2 separate regions of the Homo sapiens genome follow, and region 1 is linked to region 2. The links are contacts of gene promoters, found by promoter capture Hi-C in human tissues and cell types (Jung and others, 2019). All regions are on one chromosome and are shown on one strand. Each heading gives the region's core, a stretch centred on a gene start or on the middle of the fragment in contact. The rest is flanking DNA. Distances are from core to core; before and after follow the strand shown. Region 1 holds the start of CLSPN (claspin). Region 2 holds the start of ZMYM4 (zinc finger MYM-type containing 4).

The links. Contacts are between HindIII fragments. The study calls those that stand out against the background at their distance.
Region 1: a contact is called between the fragment with the promoter of CLSPN here and the fragment with the promoter of ZMYM4 in region 2, in 2 of the 25 tissues and cell types used here (mesenchymal stem cells and small bowel).

The regions. Positions count from the first base shown.
Region 1 is chr1:35,767,417-35,771,665 of GRCh38, forward strand. CLSPN (claspin) reads right to left here and starts at 2,562. Exons shown (of 25, transcript NM_022111.4): 1 at 2,431-2,562. The coding sequence starts at 2,454. It overlaps CLSPN-DT (CLSPN divergent transcript), which reads left to right and starts at 2,679. Exons shown (of 3, transcript NR_199050.1): 1 at 2,679-2,832. RefSeq lists a silencer at 2,175-2,404. The HindIII fragment of the contact is 25,943 bases long and covers 1-4,249 here.
Region 2 is chr1:35,266,696-35,271,473 of GRCh38, forward strand. ZMYM4 (zinc finger MYM-type containing 4) reads left to right here and starts at 2,014. Exons shown (of 30, transcript NM_005095.3): 1 at 2,014-2,390. The coding sequence starts at 2,352. RefSeq lists enhancers at 1,704-1,763, 1,784-1,843 and silencers at 1,974-2,333, 2,404-2,533. The HindIII fragment of the contact is 5,206 bases long and covers 1,261-4,778 here.

The sequences.
Region 1 (4,249 bases), core at 1,312-3,811, 500 kb after region 2:
ATGAATAAAACAAGATTGGCCATGACTTGAAAATACAGGTTGAACATCTCTAACCTGAAAATCTGAAATGCTCCCAATTCCAAAATATTTGAGCACTGACATGATGCCACTAGATGAAAATTCCACACCTGACCTCATATGATGAGCTGCAGTAAAACCTTTGCTTCATGCACGAAATTATTTTAAAATGCTGTATAAAATTACCTTCAGACTATGTGTGTAAGGTATATATGAAATATAACTGAATTTCATGTTTAGACTTGGGTCCCTCCCCCAAGATATCTCATTATGTGTATGCGAATATTCCAAAATCCAAAATGAATCTGAAATTCAAAACGCTTCTGGTCCCAAGCATTTCAGACGAGAGATATTCAAACTGTAGTTGAAGTAAGGTGATGGGTTCATTATACCATCCTTTCTACGGTTGTATAGGTTTGAAAATTTCTAAATAAGACAGTTTAAAAAGTCGCAAATAAAAACCTAAGGAGGAGGGGTGTGTTAGGTGACTTGATCAGTTAGTGACCTTAAAGCTAACCCTAGATGCCAAGTCTACCTCCTTAGTGTTCTCAGGGCTCTGAATCAACTTATTAATAAAGGGAGAAATATGAACATCAGTAATGTAACAGGGCACAAGGCCTCAGCTGAGTGGTTTCTCAAAAAATTATTAAATTGGTCAGGCATGGTGGCTCACGCCTGTAATCCCAGCACTTTGGGAGGCCGAGGTGGGTGGATCACAAGGTCAGGAGTTCGAGACTAGCCTGGCCAATACAGTAAAACCCCGTATCTACTAAAAATACAAAAATTAGCTGGGCGTGGTGGTGTGTGCCTGTAGTCCCAGCTGCTCAGGAGGCTGGGGCAGGAGAATCGCTTGAATCCAGGAGACAGAAGTTGCAGTGAGCCGAGATTGTGCCACTGCACTCCAGTCTGGGCAACAGAGCGAGACTCCGTCTCAAAAAAAAAAAAATTATTAAATTGATTTGAATGCAAGGTACAAATTTTTTTTTTTTTTGATACAGTGTCTCACTCTGTCACCTAGGCTGGAGTGCAGTGGCAGGATCATGGCTCACTGCAGCCTTGACCTCCCAGGCCCAAAGGATTCTCTCACCTCAGCCACCCGAGTAGCTGGGACCGAGTAGCTGGGACCACAGGCGACGCCCGGCTAATTTTTTTTTTTTTGTAGAGGCGGGGTTTTGCCATGTTTTCTATGCAGGCTGGTTTCGAACTCTTGAGCTCAAGCAATCTGCCGGCCTTAGCCTCCCGAAGTGCTGGGATTGCTGAGAATTAATATGTATGCACTGATGATCCTCTCAACAATCCAAAGCAGTAAAACTATTACTTCTGTTTGTGAGTGTGGAAACCGAATTTAGGTAACCAGACAGCTCAAGGAATAGGGCTGCTTTGAATGACGATTATCTTCTAGGCAATTTGCAGCAACGTCAAAGGGCAGGGCCAGTAACAGGGTGGGGTGAGGTCTCAAAAAATTCAGTAATCAAAATGAATAACATTAATGCAATATTTTTTAAAAAATTAAATCAATAATCTACAGCTCATGAGGTAAATAATATGCCCGCTTTTGTAAATAAAGTTTATTGGAAACAGGGATGGAATTAGGGTGAGGTGATTGAGGCAAGGTCGTGCAAATGACTGGTCGGATCTCGTCTTTGTTTAAACGTCTGATATTTTGTTCAATATCAAATCATAAAAAGTTTTTGCATTAATTTTGGTTTTTTAAAAATATTGCATTAAAATATGAGTTTGATTGAGGGTTTTGGCGCCCCTTTAAATTTTGCTCCTAAGGCGGGAGTGCCTTGCCCGAATCCGGCCCAGAAAGGACACAGCTCTGGAAACATCTGTTTTCTATGCCCAATTTCGCCAGGGAGCTGCCAGCCACCAGCCAGGAGCCCCAGCGGTGACTTCCCCACTCGGGGCCCGGTCGGAAAACGCAAAGGGCCTGCGCGCGATGACCTCCAGGGCCCCTCCCAGGCCCAGTGTGGAACTCCCTAACACCCTCGCTCGCCCTCTCTCTGCGGAGAATCCCCCCGCACCGCTGCGGCCGGGTTCGGCTAGAGCCTCCCGGCTTTCAGAGCACCCTGAGGGGAGGAGCTTCCGCGACAGGAAACGCGCCAAAGGGGAGGGCTGGCGGCAGGAACCGGCTGAAGAGGGGCTGGGCTGCCGGCAGTGCGCGCCGCAGAGACCTGGAGCTCTCCGGCCACGGAGCCCGAAGCGCGGGAAGCCCGGCGGCGGGACGGGATGCCCGGTCGGAACCCATCCCGGCCGAGTCTCGAGGCCGCGGGAGCCGGCGCGGCGAACGCCGGGAGCCGCAGTCCTCCCGCCCGGGCGCCTCGGGTCAGCGGGGTCTACCCCGGCCCCACCTAACCTCTCGGTGCCCGGCCTTCTAAGCCCCCGTGGGGGGCGTGTGCATAAACTCACCTCAGAACCCACCTCGCCTGTCATGACTTCTGCCTCCCCTGCGCTCCACTAGGGACGGAGCTGTCTCTGATTCCCTCAGCCGGAGAGCAGCGGCTCCCGCCGTCTCCAGCCCAGCAGTGCTGTTCTTGCTTTCCCGCCCAGCCAGAGTGGAGGTCCCACCCAGATGGTTTGCACCAATCCAGAGGGGGCTTTCCAGCGAGTCCCCGCCCCCTTCCGACCCACCAATCACGCAGCGCCTCTGGCCGCCCAATCTCCTATTACCCAGGCTGAGTTGGCGGGTCGCAGCTGCTGGTAGCGGAGCCTGGGGGAGCTGGAGGTGCACGGGGGCGGGGCAGTCGGTACCAGGCGAGCCGTGGTCTTTGACCTTTGACACTTGCCAAAGCATCGAGTGCGATTGGAGGGGTGAGTCTTTCGGGGGGAAGTGAGCTGGGAAACGGTTCCTGGGCACCTGGGAGTGTCCTGTACCTGAACTTTTTAGAGGAATTCCAAGGTTCCCGTGGGGATTTTCTCCACTGACTTCATTTCTGGAGCAGCTAGATCCTGTGTGCCTCTTGTACATGACACTTACCACTGAATATATATATATATATATATATATATATATATATATATATATACACACACACACACATATGTACACACATATATACATACACATATATACACATACACATGTATGTGTATACACACACACTTTTTTTTTTTTTGAGATGGAGTCTCCCTCTGTTAGCCAGGATGAAATGCAGTGGCGCGATCTCGGCTCACTGCAACCTCCGCCTCCCGGGTTCAAGCGATTCTCGTGCCTCAGCCTCCTGAGTAGCTAGGATTACAGGCACCCGCCACCAACCCCTGGCTAATTTTTGTATTTTTAGTAGAGACGGGGTTTCACCATGTTGGCCAGGCTGGTCTCGAACTCCTGATCTCAAATGATCCTCGCCTCGGCCTCCCAAAGTGCTGGGAGGCCTCATACCCCTCACAGGCGTGAGCCACTGTGCCCGGCCCACTTTTATTTTTTAAAGAGGGCCGGGCTCCATGGCTCACGCTTGTAATCTCAACGCTTTGGGAGGCCGAGGTGGGAGGATGGCTTGAGTCCAGGAGTTTGAGGTTAGAGTGAGTTATGATCGCACCACTGCACTTCAGCGTAGGCGATAGAGGGAGACCTTGTCTCTAAAGAAAAAAGTTTTGTGGGCTGCTCAGATACCAAAGAATATGGTTGGATAATCTTTATAATTCTCTGTAGAGTTAATTTGAGGATGTAGAAAGCACTCATCACTCCTAGAGGGCATTCTACCTTTAAACAAGGCTGGAAAAAGAATTGAAGCTCTGAAATCAGGTTTATCCCAGACACAGTTCTTTTTTTTTTTTTTTTTTTTTTGTTGAGACAGAGTCTCTCCCTGTCACCATGGCTGGGTGCAATGGCGTGATCTCGGCTCACTGCAACCTCCGCCTCCCGGGTTCAAGCGATTCTCCTGCCTCAGCCTCCTGAGTAGCTAGGATTATAGGCATGTGCCACCACGCTCAGATAATTTTTTGTAACTTTAGTAGAGACAAGATTTCACCATTTTGGCCAGGCTGATCTTGAACTCCTGACCTCGTGATCCGCCCGTCTCAGCCTCCCAAAGTGCTGGGATTACAGGTGTGAGTCACCGCACCTGGCCTATCCCAGACAATTCTAATCCCAGTTTTGCCACTGTGCTGGCCATTATTTTTTGCCTCTCCAGGTCAATTCTCTGTCCTTCCTTTACCCTGGTGTGTGTCAAGGCAAGGCTGACCTCTCTAGACTGTATTATCCCAGCTCCCTTGCCCTTCTGGTTGGGTC
Region 2 (4,778 bases), core at 764-3,263:
GAATCCTTCTATAAAATTATGATTAACTTTTCAGTGCTCACTAAATGGTTTTCTCTTGTCTTATTCCTCCATATGGATGACTGCCCTGAACATTCATGTTATGCTTGTATATTATCTGAAATGCACAAATCCCACCTATTATTCGAGACCTAACACATTGCTAATACCTCCAGAAACAGTCTGTGTAGGACAGAGCCCTGAGGATCAAGATGTCTGTTTCAGTCTTGATACTGTTACTAATCCTGTGTGTGATCTCAAGCAAATCATATCTTCTCTAAGCCTCAGAGGCTTCATCTTGAAAATGTGGAGTTAGACTAAACTAATAAGTTTAAACTGTGATCTGAGAAACTCAACATTTCTGTAATGATGGGAGGGGGCATGAAAGGAGAGAGAGTGCAAGGGTGAAGCTGGGTGAATAGACTAGTGGGTTCCCCACTTACACTCCCAACTTAGCAGCTCCACATTTTAAACCACCAGATTTTATTAGAAGGGAGTATTCCACTGCCAATAAAACAGGTGGAAACCACTACAAGTTTTATGTAGCCACATTCCCTGGAATTATCTTTTCTTGGCTCCTCTTTTCTTTCTTGTCCTGGACATGGAACTAAAGGGAACATGTTTTTAAAATTCTGGCTGAAATGAACATATTTCTTTGTCCTTCTTTCTTCTCTCCTACCGAGGAGTGAAATTAAAGACAGTGCTAAAGGCATAAGCAAGGCCAGTATGGAAACTTCCAGCAATTTCACCAAAAGTTTTCAGCAAAATATTACAGATTAGAAAACATCTGTTTCAGAATAGCTACCAAGTGCTAAATAAAACAGAAAACAGAAGTTACATCTCATTATCCTGTGACTTCAGGAGTTATCATTCCCACTTGAATATGTCTTGTCATGGGAAATGACCTTCAGGAGGCATCTTCTTTGTATTTCTTACTATATGTCTCCCCACTGTCCCTGAACTATCATTATAAACTTAATTTTTTCTGCACCCAAAGCTTGTGGGAACTAGAATGAACAGAAGAGGAATGAATGAAGCCCTCATTCTTTTCAGCGATTTTCAGCTTAGGACCCAGTTTTGGAACAAGATAGACCCAAATCTACTTCCTGGTTTCCTGCTTAGAAATAAGATGCTTATCCTTTAAGGCAGATTGTCAAGCTCCTTCAATAGAGGTGAATGAGGACACCCATCATCTGCAAATCATTACATCTTCACAAGAGAATTATGATATTCTCCAAATACCATGAAACTTCAATTTTTAATCTTCTAGGGATATCAAATTAAACCAAATTTATCTCTCGCCTGAAGACAGCCTGGAGGACTGAGACTGTAATCTTGATTCCAACTCCACACCAGCCATTAGTTACATTGGGACAAATTCCTTCCCATGATCAGGCTGCAATTTTATCATTGGGAGCACTGGAGTAAATGGTTCCCTAAGATCCTTCTCCATTTTGATGTTCTAAGGATAAATTACTATTGAAGAAATTATTTCCAGTTGTTGGTTCAATCTTCAAAATCACCAAAAGCTTTGATTTTAAGGTGAGGTTATAGGAGTTGGCTCTTGATATTCTATGCCTTGTGCTTCAGAACAGGCAGTCGAAAGGGAGGAAAGTTGGTTTTCCTTGAGATGACTGTCTTGTTCCCTCATTGGTTTGGGATTCTTCATGTTCAGAGGTCCACTGAGAACTTCAGCTTACCATGACTTTCCCTCTTCAATGGTACCACTGTAGTCAGGTGTAAGATGGTGATGTGGAACCCTTCACTGACATTGCACCCAATTCTCCAGATTGTCTTTCCAGTAATTTCTTTCATTTCTCCTTCATCCCTGCGTCATGGTCCCTTTAAGGGAGCGGCCATAGTTGAGTGGTGGGAGCAGCTGCTGGCAGCAAAGAGACTTGCAGGATTTGGCCTACCCATGGCCACTTACCGCGCACGCTCAGGACCGGGGGCTTGGTGGGAAAGGAAGGAGGGACTTAGGGTGCGCCTGCGCATCAGGGGCGCGCGCAAGGGGCTGATTTGGTGATCCCTTTAAGAAACCGCAGGCGGAGGAATTTCTCTGAGAGAAAATAATCCTACTCACGGGGCCCCTTGGAGGCCATTAACCCCCCGAGTCCCGGCCCCCACCCCGTCCCCGGGCAGGCCCTCCCGCCCACGCGCGGACCCGTGGGATCTCAGAAGCTGCGGCCCGGCGCGCGGCATCCGCCCCCTCCCCACTCTCGGCGCAAGGCCCGGCCGGGTCCGGGGAAGCTGCCGCGAGGCGGCCGTGCCTGCAGTGTGGGCGGGGGCCGGGGGGCCGAGAGGTACCGCCGCCACCGCGCGGGGAGCCGCAGCGGTTCCGAGCGGGGCCCAACATGGCGGAGAGAGAGGTGGAGTCCGGCCCCCGAAAGAGGGTAGGTGAGGTGAGGCAGAACTCGGGCGGCGGGGGGCGGGGCGCGGCCCGGGGCCGGGAATGGGCCATACTCAGGTTCGTGGAGGGGTCGCCGAGGCCCAGTTAGGACAAGGTTGCGGGCAGGTCTGAGGCAGCCTTGGGTCCGGAGCGCGCTGGCGAGCGGTCCCTCGGCAGGTGGGACAAAGATTTGGTGCTGGGTGGGGGGGAGGGGAGGGGGCCGTTGTTTGCCTTCCTCCCCCCGACGTTCCCCAGCACTGGGGTGGGATATCTAGGCCCAGGGAGGGGAGGTGTCAGATTCTTAAGTGCATCTTTAGTGCATCTTTAGTACATCAGAGTCTGGAAGTTAACTGGGGAGAGGTCAGGTGGGGGTGGTGGTGGCGGGAATAAGTCGTGGAGGGGTCTCAGGAGAAATAACCGGAGGGTTCTTCAGTAACACCATCGCGAATTCATTTTCCTGCCTCCTTTCCCCTCCCCCCATAGCCGTTATCTAGACCAAAGTCGGGGTGGTGGTCTTACCTGTGAAGAAGTGGGATCGTTGGCATGTCCTGATTTAGGAGAAAGATTTTGGCTACTATGAATGTCATGTTCTAGCCTAGCCTCTTACTCGCAATTAGGGACTTGGAAGAATACGACAAGTTTTCTCATAACAGGGATGTACCCAATCAACCTGCAGAGGTGAAGCCAATTCTACATAGGAGTTGTTTGAATACCTTTTAAAGTTTGTCTGGAAACTTTCCTTATTTAATTCTGAGTGGTTTTTTTCAGATGGCGAACAATACTGTACTATCGATTGAGCAATATCCCTCACTTTTCTTTTACTTCCTCCCCGCTTAGCATGATAAGAAGTAAGTTTCCTTTTAGGAGTCTTCCTTTTGGGAATGGTTTCAGAAACGATCAATTAGCAAAAGGGCAAAAAATTACTACTTTATGAAGAATGCCCTTTCAGCTTAGCGTAAAATTAGTAATCTCGTAATGATGCTACAGCTGATGTTTTGAGTGCTTACTGTGTGCCTGGCACTGAGCTAAGACCTTTATGTGAAGAATTTAACTTCATAGTAACTCCTCCTAGAACCTATTTGCAGATGAGGAAATTTAGGTGTTGAGGGCTTAAGTAATTTACTTAGATCACACAGCTAGTTGCAAGGTTGAGGTAGGATTTGAATCCAGGTTTGTCCCAACTATAGTGCCTGTGTGGGATGCCACAGAGGAGTTTCTTTAATCTGTGTTTCTCTCCTTAAAAGCTTAAATTGTAAATGACCAAAGAAGTGTCAAGTATTATTTTTTCCAACAATTTATTAGGAAAATATTTTGAACTATCCGTCAATATTATAAAACTTACGGGGAGCAGTCATACACCCAACCGCCTAGATCCTACTGTTAACATTGCATTCCGGACATGCACAGCGGCTCACGCCTGTAATCCCAGCACTTTGGGAGGCCGAGGCGGCAGGATCACTTGAGGCCAGGAGTTCGAGACCAGCCTGGCCAACATGGTGAAACCCCGTCTCTACTAAAAATACAAAAAATTAACCCGGCGTGGTGGCGGGTGCCTGTAATCCCAGCTATTCGGGAGGCTGAGGCAGGGGAATCGCTTGAACCTGGGAGGCGGTGGTAGCAGGGAGGCGGTGGTAGCAGTGAGCCGAGATCGTGCTACTGCACTCTAGCCTAGGTGACAGAGGGAGGCACTGTCTCAAAACCCCCTCCAAAAAAAAAATTGCATTCCACTTGTTTTATCATATATTTACCCCTCTATCCCTCTTTCTGTTCATCAGTCGTGTTATTTTAATGCATTTCATCGTAGTGTTTTGAACAATAAATTTTTACCATTGATAAGTTTACGAAATGTTGGATTCACCTAATGCAATAATTAGTCATAGAGCAAGTTAAGCTGTATGATGGTATGTCCAAATAGTTTTGTAAGTATAAATGTTGTGTATGGAATGCATGTGTTTTGAAATTTTAAAATTTTCAAGTTGTGTTCAGTTTTGAACTAGATCCTTACTGTGCTTGGATGAAGGCATATGGCATATAGTCCACCAATGAAAATATACAGGGTAAATTACTTAAGATATGTAATGTTAATTCAGGGAGATTTCTGCATCCAGTTGCTGTGAATGTTGTCATTCACCTTCTGTACTAGGATGTTCTAGGATATTCTAGAAAACATTGATGTGTGTTGACAACAAATTCAACTAGATTTTAAATATATTCTGCCTCTTGTCGTACACTTAAAAGATGTTACTGGTCTTGTGAATCTTCTGCTAAAGGAATGCTGGAAAAAAAAAAAAAGATACCATACTGGTAGCAGTAAAAACTTTATTATTATTATTATTTTTGAGACAGAGTCTTGCTCTGTTGCCCAGGCTAGAGTGCGGTGGCGCAATCTCGG